Linked DNA regions of Homo sapiens: regions 2 and 3 are each linked to region 1. The links are contacts of gene promoters, found by promoter capture Hi-C in human tissues and cell types (Jung and others, 2019). All regions are on one chromosome and are shown on one strand. Each heading gives the region's core, a stretch centred on a gene start or on the middle of the fragment in contact. The rest is flanking DNA. Distances are from core to core; before and after follow the strand shown.

Region 1 (3,037 bases), core at 67-2,566:
CTGCATAATGATTCCATTTTTAAGATACCTCTAAATTATAAGGGATTCCAGCCTCTACCTGGAAATTAAAGCTGTGCAGATAAAATACAAAGTCATTAATAAACATCACAAAGATAATTCTAACAAGAAGCACCATGTAAAAGTAAGGCAGGAATCAGAAAAATCATCAATTACTGACATATTAAATCACACTTTCAAAAGAATAGGGAGCTGGAAGCAGCCGCTCCCTTTCAGGAGGGCTGTATGACACTGAATGAAATGCCAGGGACTCCTGGCTGGTGAGCAGCGGGAACTTTGCGGTCGAGCGGCGCGGGGCAGCCACAGACCTGGGCGCTTCAATCTGTCACCAGCCTGCCCGCAAAGCCCAGCGACAGCCCCCAACGCCCCCCCGGGGACCCATCTGGGGGGACCGGGAGCAGGACAAAGGTCTGAAATCCAAGTCCTAGGAGTAAAGAAACAAAATGCGCAGGTTCAATTTAAAGTGCCTGCGGTAAGTACGGGGAGTGAGGGGGAAAGACACCGGCCTCCAAGAATTCTCAGGCGTTTAGCACAAGCACCAGCTCATTACCAGGAGATGCGTTCGGGGAGTGGGGACATGGAGAATGAATCCCAACTTGTGACTCCATTCTCCACTAACTTTATTCTCGCTCCCTGGACCAAGCGCATCGCTGGGGCCAGGGTTGTCATGGTTCTTGTTTCCAAGGCCCCTTGGAAGAAGGAAAGGGATGAGAAAGGTGCGCTGGCGGGCGCACCCGGCGGCGGCGAGCGCGGAGGTGCTGCGGTACCTACCATGGTATTCTTGTCCCGGAACGTAGTAGGTGGGGTTGCCCGCAATATGCAGGGAAATGAGCACCTCGCCCTGCTCCCCATCCCCTTCCAGCTCCCCGTGGTGGGTGCACAGGAAAAAGAAGGGCGAAAAGCGGGGGTAATAGCCAGCCGCCGCGCGCGCCCTCAGCGTCGCCCCCAGCAACAGCGCTAGGAGGAAAGTCTGCCGGGCCCAGCCACTGCGCTCCATGCCGCCGCCGCCGCCGCCGCCGCCGCGCGCCCTACGCGCCGCTCGCTCATTCAGTTTTGGAGACGCCGGGACGGAGGAGCCACGCGGAGAGAAGGCGAGAAGAAGGCGGACGGGAGCGGAACGGGCTCGGGAGCGGGCCTGGGAGCGGGCCCCCGCCGAGAAGTTCCGCGGGAGACGGCGGCTCCCAAAGTTACTTTGGGCCGCGGGAGCGCGGGACCGGGGCTGCGGGCGCCGAGAGCGCGTCGTCTGCCGCCTCCGTGCGCCGCCGCCGCCTCTGCGCGACGCCCCTCGGCCAGGCCTGGGAAAGCGCCCGCCCCGCTCCACACCTTCTTAAAGCCCCGGGCGCCGCGTCCCCCCCGCCGCCGCCACACGTGTCCCGGCCGCTCCCCCGCCCCCGCGCGCCGCCCCGCCCGCCCCCCGCCCTCTCGGGCTGGCTCGGCGGCACCTCGCGCGGCGAGGGGCGCACGCGTCCCCGGAGTCCCCGGCCAGCGCCCGGTTCGCACCCGGGAGGACAGGGAGGGGCGCCCGCCGGGGAGCGGGACGGGGACGCTGTCGAGGACCGCTGAGCCCGCGACTCTTCTGCGAGGGACGTCAAAGCCCCGCAGAGGGCACCTCCCGTCCAGCTGTCTGAAGGGGAAGGCCAGCCCCTTTGGCCGTCAGTGTGCCCTGTTTTTCCTGGGAGGATGCGTGAGGGAAGGAGAGGGGCGGCAGGGACGGCCGCTGGCGCCGGTTTCTTTGTCTGAGCCGGCTGCGTCCCGCGCCCCTCGGGGCTCGCAGTCTGCCAGTCCGGGCGGCCCGCACTCGTTCTGGGAATCCGCCCGAGGCCGCGAACCGCTAGGGGCCCTCGCGCTCCCTTCCCACCCAGGCCCCCTGTCCCTCCCGCCGCGGCCGCCCGGCCCCTCGCGGCAGCGACAGAGCCTCATCTGTAGAGGATTTTAAAATGAGATTAAGCGAAAGTGGAATTGGCAGACTCGAGTGGTGCCTGGAAATGGTGATTTGTGCTGCTCGGTTGTGGGGAATTGTAAGGCAGGAAGGGCTGGCGGAGCTAAGATCCGACAGGCTCTCTTCGCCGGACTGTTCTGTTATTCATTGCTTCTGGGCTCTTCAGGCAGAGATGGGTGTTGTAATTTTTTAAATCAGTGTTTATTTCCTTTAAATGTCGGTTATGACCAATGGCCCTGAAATCGGGGGAGGGAAAAACGTTCAGGGGAGATGCTGGCAGCGGTGATTGAAGCGGGTGGTAATGAGCGGCTGCACATGAACTGCAGGGAAGTGAAATAATCCATAAGCACGTTTTTAACCGAGGACGGCTGGCAGGAGCCCTGCGGCATCCGGAGATGGGGGAGCGGGGTTGCCAGGTTTTAATGCCTCTCCCCACCCACCCTTGGCTTGCCACCAAGCCAGATAAACCCGCACGTACAGAAATGAGTAGATTATAAAATTGGAAGGGATAGTGCCTTTGCCTGCATTTGTGGGGCGAGGGGCGGTGAAAATCAGGGTCCAAGGGGAGACCTCTGTAATCACTTCGTTGCAAAAGGAAGAAATTGTTTTTCTTCCTCTTACTGAGACCGAATGACAGGTAGAAAGGGCCCATTTCTAGCTGGCTTCTTGTTTCCCTTACTTCAAAATCCCCAGAGGCTTAACTGCCATATAAATAATATACAGTGTATACATATATGTATGTGCATATATATATATATGATGTGGTAACAATTGCTACACTGTAGCTCTGCGGGGTGCAGGCTGTGGGGCTAGACGTACTTTAGCTTTTTAATCCTAACACCAACTGGAGAGGCAAAAAATATCCCTATTTCACAAGGGAGGAGGCACTCAGAAATGTTGATAACTTGCCCAAAGTCAGTGACAAAGGCTGGATGCAGGGCAGACTGGCTGGCCTCAGAGGCTCTTGTCCTGCACTGCCCTGCCACAGTCGACAGCCCTAGCTGGAGCAGGTGGTGTTGCCCCAAACAGAATTAGGAGATACTCGCCCACAGCTAACAAGGCTGTTACTGCCTTCCTGTC
Region 2 (2,758 bases), core at 50-2,549, 46 kb after region 1:
ATTGAAACGACCCCTATAAACTTTATAAAATTAATCAGGGAAGAAGAGAGAGGGAGAAATGAAAATAAACCAAGTTTGCAGCACATTCAGCATTAATCATGAGGTGAGCTTGCTCTCTGACTACTTCCTCATAGTCTTTTGGTGCCTGTTACCTCAGAATCATGTAGATCCTATTACAAGATTAGAGTTCCCCTTAACTGCTCTATAGATAACAACTTGAACATTATTAAATGTTGTTTTCCCTTTGAGATATTGCTTTAGGACCTTCAGGTCCTGTATGCTGATGAAACTACTGACTCAGCTAGTCTGAAGAACCCCATGAGGAGCCAATTCACCAAAGAAAGCAGTTTCCACATCTTGATTATATCATCCCCCTTGCCCCGACCAATCAACAATCCCAATTTTCCAGCCCCTCACCTTCCATGATCCCCTTAAAAACCCTATCCCAGAACTCCTCAGGGAAATAGATTTGAGGGTCTCCTCCCATCCCCTGGCTCAGTGCCTGGCAATCACTAAACTCTTTCTCAGTTGCATCCCTGTTGTCTCAGTGCATTGGTCTGTTACTGCACAATGGACACACAAACCTGTTGGTTTTATAACAGTAGGATGATTAGATCTCAGGTATTTGCACTCCTATTTTATTTAACAGTCTAAAGCAGTGGTTCTCAGAGGTTAGCCTGCATTAGAATAACCTAGATAAATATAAAATGCAGAGGTGAAATGTAAGGTCTGGAAGCGCATGACTTTGACTTCAATACCAGCCTGCCACCTGACAGCTGTGTGACATTGGGGAAGTTGCTCAACTTCTGTGTGCCTCAGGTTCCTTATCCTAAAATGTTGCCAATAATAGCAACTTGGTCATTGGGTTGTTGTGAGGATTAAATGAGTTAATATTTGTAAAGTGCTTAGAAGTGTGCCTGGCACAGAAGAATTACTCAATAAACATTATCTTTCACCTGTCTGTCATTCTTTCTGGCTCTGAAAAAAGACTTTGATTCTGGGATTCAGTTTCAGTCAATATCAGTTATTGGTCTCAAATATATATTTGATGCTTGTGTCCCTGATAACATGTGTTAAGATGTGGCATTAGAAAAACGAGACAGCAAAAAACAGAGTTCATTCATTCCAGAGGCTCAAAGCCACAGTGAATGTCAGTTCATTGGTGAAAATGTCACTGGGTAAGTGTTCTTTCGCAAGCATCTTATCTGAATTACGGCAGTCCTAAAGAATGTCTAGTGATAAACCTTGTCATAGGCAGGTGATGTGTGAAGGATGCAAACGAGTTTCTTGGGGAGTTTTTTGAAAGCCCTTGGAAACAGTTCTTATTTTGGACATGAAAGCATGTGCCTCCTCTCCCCTTCATGTGTTTCTGGCCTTATTTTGTCTAGGTCTGGCAAAGGTGATTTCATCTCATTATCTACAACTTTCACACCTCCAGAGACTTGAATTCAGTTGCCTGTGATAGGGCCCTGGGATATGCATTTTGTTTTTTGTTGTTGGTTGTGGTTTTTTTGTTTTGCTTTTTGAAACGGAGGCTTGGTCTTTCACCAGGCTGGAGTGCAGTGGCGCGATCTCAGCTCACTGCAACCTCCACCTCCTGGGTTCAAGCGATTCTCCTGCCTCAGCCTCACAAGGGATATGCACTTTTAGCTCTAAATATACATATATAATTCCTCAGGTGATTTTGAAGTCAGTGGTCTAGAAACATGCACTTAAATACCGGCAACATTTTGCATACAATTTCAAAAGATTCAGAAACTCCTGCAGTGCACTTGTGCATTCTCAGGTTCAGAAGGAAGAGACACATATAAACAAAAATAATGTCAATCAAGACAGACCATGAAAAGGTCTATAAGAAAGGAATGGAAGGAAGGAAAATACCTTCTACTGGGAATGCTGTGTTTTTTTTGAGATGGGATCCTGCTCTCTTCTCCAGGCTGGGGTGGAGTGGTGTAATGATGGCTCACTGAAGCCTCAATCTCCTGGACCCTCCTAACTCAGCCTCCTGAATAACTAGGACCCCAGGCATTTGCTGCCATGCCTGGCTAATTTAAAAAAAAAAATTTGTAGAGGTGGGATCTTACTATGCTTCCCACTTTGGGCAACCCCTGGGCTCAAACCCCTGGGCTCAAGTAGTACTCCCACTTTGGCCTCCCAAGGTGTTGGGATTACAGGTGTGAGCCACTGCACCTGACTGGAACGTTTCTTGAGGAGGAAAGACCTGTTCTGGACCTTGAAGGTGAGGAAAGTCTAACATGGGGCTCTCAGGGCAGAGAGAGTATATTAAGTGAAGGCCCAAAAAGTGTGAAGGTGCAGGGAAACTTGAAAAATAGAGAAGCAGGCAAGAAAAATAGATATATTGGGAGTGAAGTCTGAATTGGATTCAAACTGAATCCTAAGTTTGAGGATCCCTGCAGGGCTTGCTTATGGAGAAAGGTGGCCTGAATGAAGGTTAGGAGGGAGGTCAGGGATAGAAACATGAATATCAGAGAGAGCCTTGCAAAGGCCATAGTGGAAATGCTGAACATTAGTAAGATTACCAATAAGAGAAAAAAACAAAAAGAGCAAAAGAAGAACCTTGAACAACCACATTAAAGTCCCAGGTTTTTCTTAGCTGTAGATAAAAAACAGCATCAAAGCCTGGGCACGGTGACTCATGCCTATAATCCCAGCACTTTAGGAGGCTGAGGTGGGCAGATCACGAGGTCAGGAGGTCAAGGCCAGCCTGGTCAATATGGTGAAACCCCCATATCTACTA
Region 3 (2,934 bases), core at 362-2,861, 43 kb before region 1:
TAAAAAATCCCAGTCCCCAGGTATGTTATTAAAAAACAAACAAAAAAAACACCTACGGATGTCCTTGTAGTTCTACCTGGCAGTGCCTCCAGTTCACTTGCAAAATACAATTACAAGATGAATTGTGACAAGAGTTAAACAACTCACACAAAGAGAAGCTACAAATAGCAAGAGTCTCTGAATTACATGGCAAATACTGGGAGCTCCCAGAGGGAGCTCTCAAAAGACCTACAAGGGGAAAGAACAGCAGAACAAAATTGACCAATTTGACAAAATTGACAAAATTCACCTAACCCAACCCCTGCCAAAGAAATCCTGTCATTTTATTCCCTTACCTAGGATCAGTCTTGACCATGAACACTCATAATCCATTATTACAGAGATTACACTCCTGATTCTCTAGGCCTCTCAGACACTTTCCAACAGCTGATCCTAATCTGTTAAGAAAACCAGTTCTCAACTGTAGTATTATTTTGGCCTTCATACCTGATTCAGTTTACCCCCTACCGAAGACAGACGAGCCTTCAGGCCTTCATGTATGGTCCCCCTCCCTGCAAAGAATGCTCTTCCTTCTAGCTGTTCCTCTGGCCAACAAGCCACATGATACTTCCTTTTCCTCAGGGAAGATTTCCCTAATCCCCGTAACCAGGTTACAAACTCCATTAAATATTCCCTCAAAACCTCACACTCCTCCTGCTTAGCACTTACCATACTGTAATTAAATAATTATTTGAGTACAATCAAGAGCCACGTAAAGACATTTTGGCCAGTGATGGACCTCATATACGGCAATGGTCCCCTAAGATGATAATACCATATTTTTACGGTACCTTTTCTACATTCAGGTATCTTTAGATACACAAACATTTACCATTATGTTACCATTGCCTCTGGTATTCAGTGCAGTAATATTCTGTGCAGGTTTTAGCTTAGGAGCAACAAGGCTGGACTGCACAGCCTAGGTGTCTCCTAGGCTGCACCATCTAAGTTTGTAAGTGCCGTACACTCTGATGTTCACAAAATGACAAAATTGCTAATGACACATTTCTCAGAATACATCCCCATTGTTAAGCAATGCATGGCTGTGATTACTTGTTCAATCTCTAAATCTCTCAAAAGACCAGAAGCTTCATAAAGCACTGACTGTGTTTGCCTTGTTCAGTGCTACTGTTTTCCCAGTGCTGAGCGCATAATAGGTGCTGAATAATATCTACTTAATGATAGTAGAACACCTAAAAATTGAAATCAATGTAAAGTTATCCTAAGGTACTTTTACTTACTAAAACTAATTAAAACTATTATTATTACTCACTTATTAAAACTATGCAAACTTAACCTCAACTACAACTTTTTAAGATAACTATGGCTTAAAATGTTTAACAGATAAACCTTTAATTTTTCATTCTGCTCTAGTTTATGAAACATTGAACAAAAAAAAGGTGAGAAGTTCAAATTAGTATTTACCTAAAATAAAACGAATCATTTTGTAAACTGGGTCTGTAATTTAAAATGGTAACTAAGTAGTTCTATAGTGACCATGGCTTCAGTTAAATAATATCCAATCAAGGCAAGATATGAGTATTAAACATTCATGAGCTGCTCAGAATATTATGAATTAATCAGCACTTCCTCATTTAAATGTTTAATATTTAATGCTAGTGCTTCTACAGTCTCTTGGAATTATTACACTTTACTATGTCTCTTACAACTGAATAACAATAGAGTTGCTATATACTTTCTTAGAATTCTGGTTATGGAATCCACAGTGATCTGTATGTTGGAGGAGAACGTGATTGTAATGCATTAAGCTTTTGATGAAATTCTTGACACATTTGTCTCAGATGCAAAAAGATAATAAAAAACACTCATGATAAGCAGAAGTAAGCGCTTTTGCAATGTGATTGCCTTTCATCCATGATGAATTATTTGTAGAAGCTTACTAAAAATCTGGTTTTCATGAACTCCCCTAGACAAATGTAAGTGGTATGCTAAAGGCATTTTAGGCAGTATAAAGTATTAGTGTCAGAATGTTAGTCTAGTAAATCTTCTAAACACTAGCTGTGGAAATAATAGGATAATATCCCCCCAAATGAATTCACCCATTCCGAGTCCTCTCAGCCATCTTAAAACTAATGTTGGCATTTAAAAACTAAACAACAGTCATAATGCTTTATTCTTACATATATCTCATCATTCAAAAGTCTCAAGGAAATCAACTGTGACTCATTATACCTTACAACATATTCAGTTCTTTTAACCCTAGCAGGGAAGTACTTTTGTGCACCAGATACAAAACAGTGGTGACTGTAACAGGTTGAATCATGGTTCCCTTCAAAGTAATCATTTGCTTAAGTCCTAATCCTCAATACTCAGAATGTGATGTTATTTGGAGATAGGGTCTTTACAGAGGTAAACACGTTAAAGTGAGATCATTAGGGTGGATCCTAATTCAATAAGACTGATATCCCTACAAAAAGACAAATGTTAGATCTAATGACAGACATGCATAAAAGGAATGCAATATGAAGAAACATATGGAAAAGATAGCCATCTACAAGCCAAGGAAAAAGGCCTGGAATAGATCATTCTCTCATTTATTGTCTCACAGCTCTAGAAGAAATCTGCCTGGGGATTTCAGACTTCTATCCTCTAGAGCTGTGAGACAATAAATTTCTGTTATTTAAGCCACCCAGTTTGTAGTACTTTGTTACAGCAGTCCCAGCAAGTAAATACAGTAACATAGTAAAATGTTGTGTGTTACAACAGAAATATTCCATTCATAAAATATAAAAATTATATTTCCCAGTGCAGCTGCAATCTGACTCTAGTGCATATGTAAATGAGAAATTATCATATATTAAATATTACCCCTTACAATGTCAATCATGCTTAGGAGAATTATAGTTGCAATGGCATTTGTTCCTCTGAAATTTC

The links. Contacts are between HindIII fragments. The study calls those that stand out against the background at their distance.
Region 2: a contact is called between a fragment that was not itself captured here and the fragment with the promoter of RELN in region 1, in 2 of the 25 tissues and cell types used here (pancreas and thymus).
Region 3: a fragment that was not itself captured here is called in contact with the fragment with the promoter of RELN in region 1 in 6 of the 25 tissues and cell types used here (bladder, heart left ventricle, hippocampus and 3 more).

The regions. Positions count from the first base shown.
Region 1 is chr7:103,988,342-103,991,378 of GRCh38, forward strand. It overlaps RELN (reelin), which reads right to left and starts at 1,317. Exons shown (of 65, transcript NM_005045.4): 1 at 790-1,317. The coding sequence starts at 1,015. The HindIII fragment of the contact is 8,012 bases long and covers 1-3,037 here.
Region 2 is chr7:104,034,347-104,037,104 of GRCh38, forward strand. No RefSeq gene overlaps it. Among named protein-coding and RNA genes, the nearest start is that of RELN, 46 kb to the left of the region's middle. The HindIII fragment of the contact is 9,244 bases long and covers 1-2,758 here.
Region 3 is chr7:103,944,957-103,947,890 of GRCh38, forward strand. All of the region lies in intron 1 of RELN (reelin), which reads right to left. Among named protein-coding and RNA genes, the nearest start is that of RELN, 43 kb to the right of the region's middle. The HindIII fragment of the contact is 3,688 bases long and covers 1-2,934 here.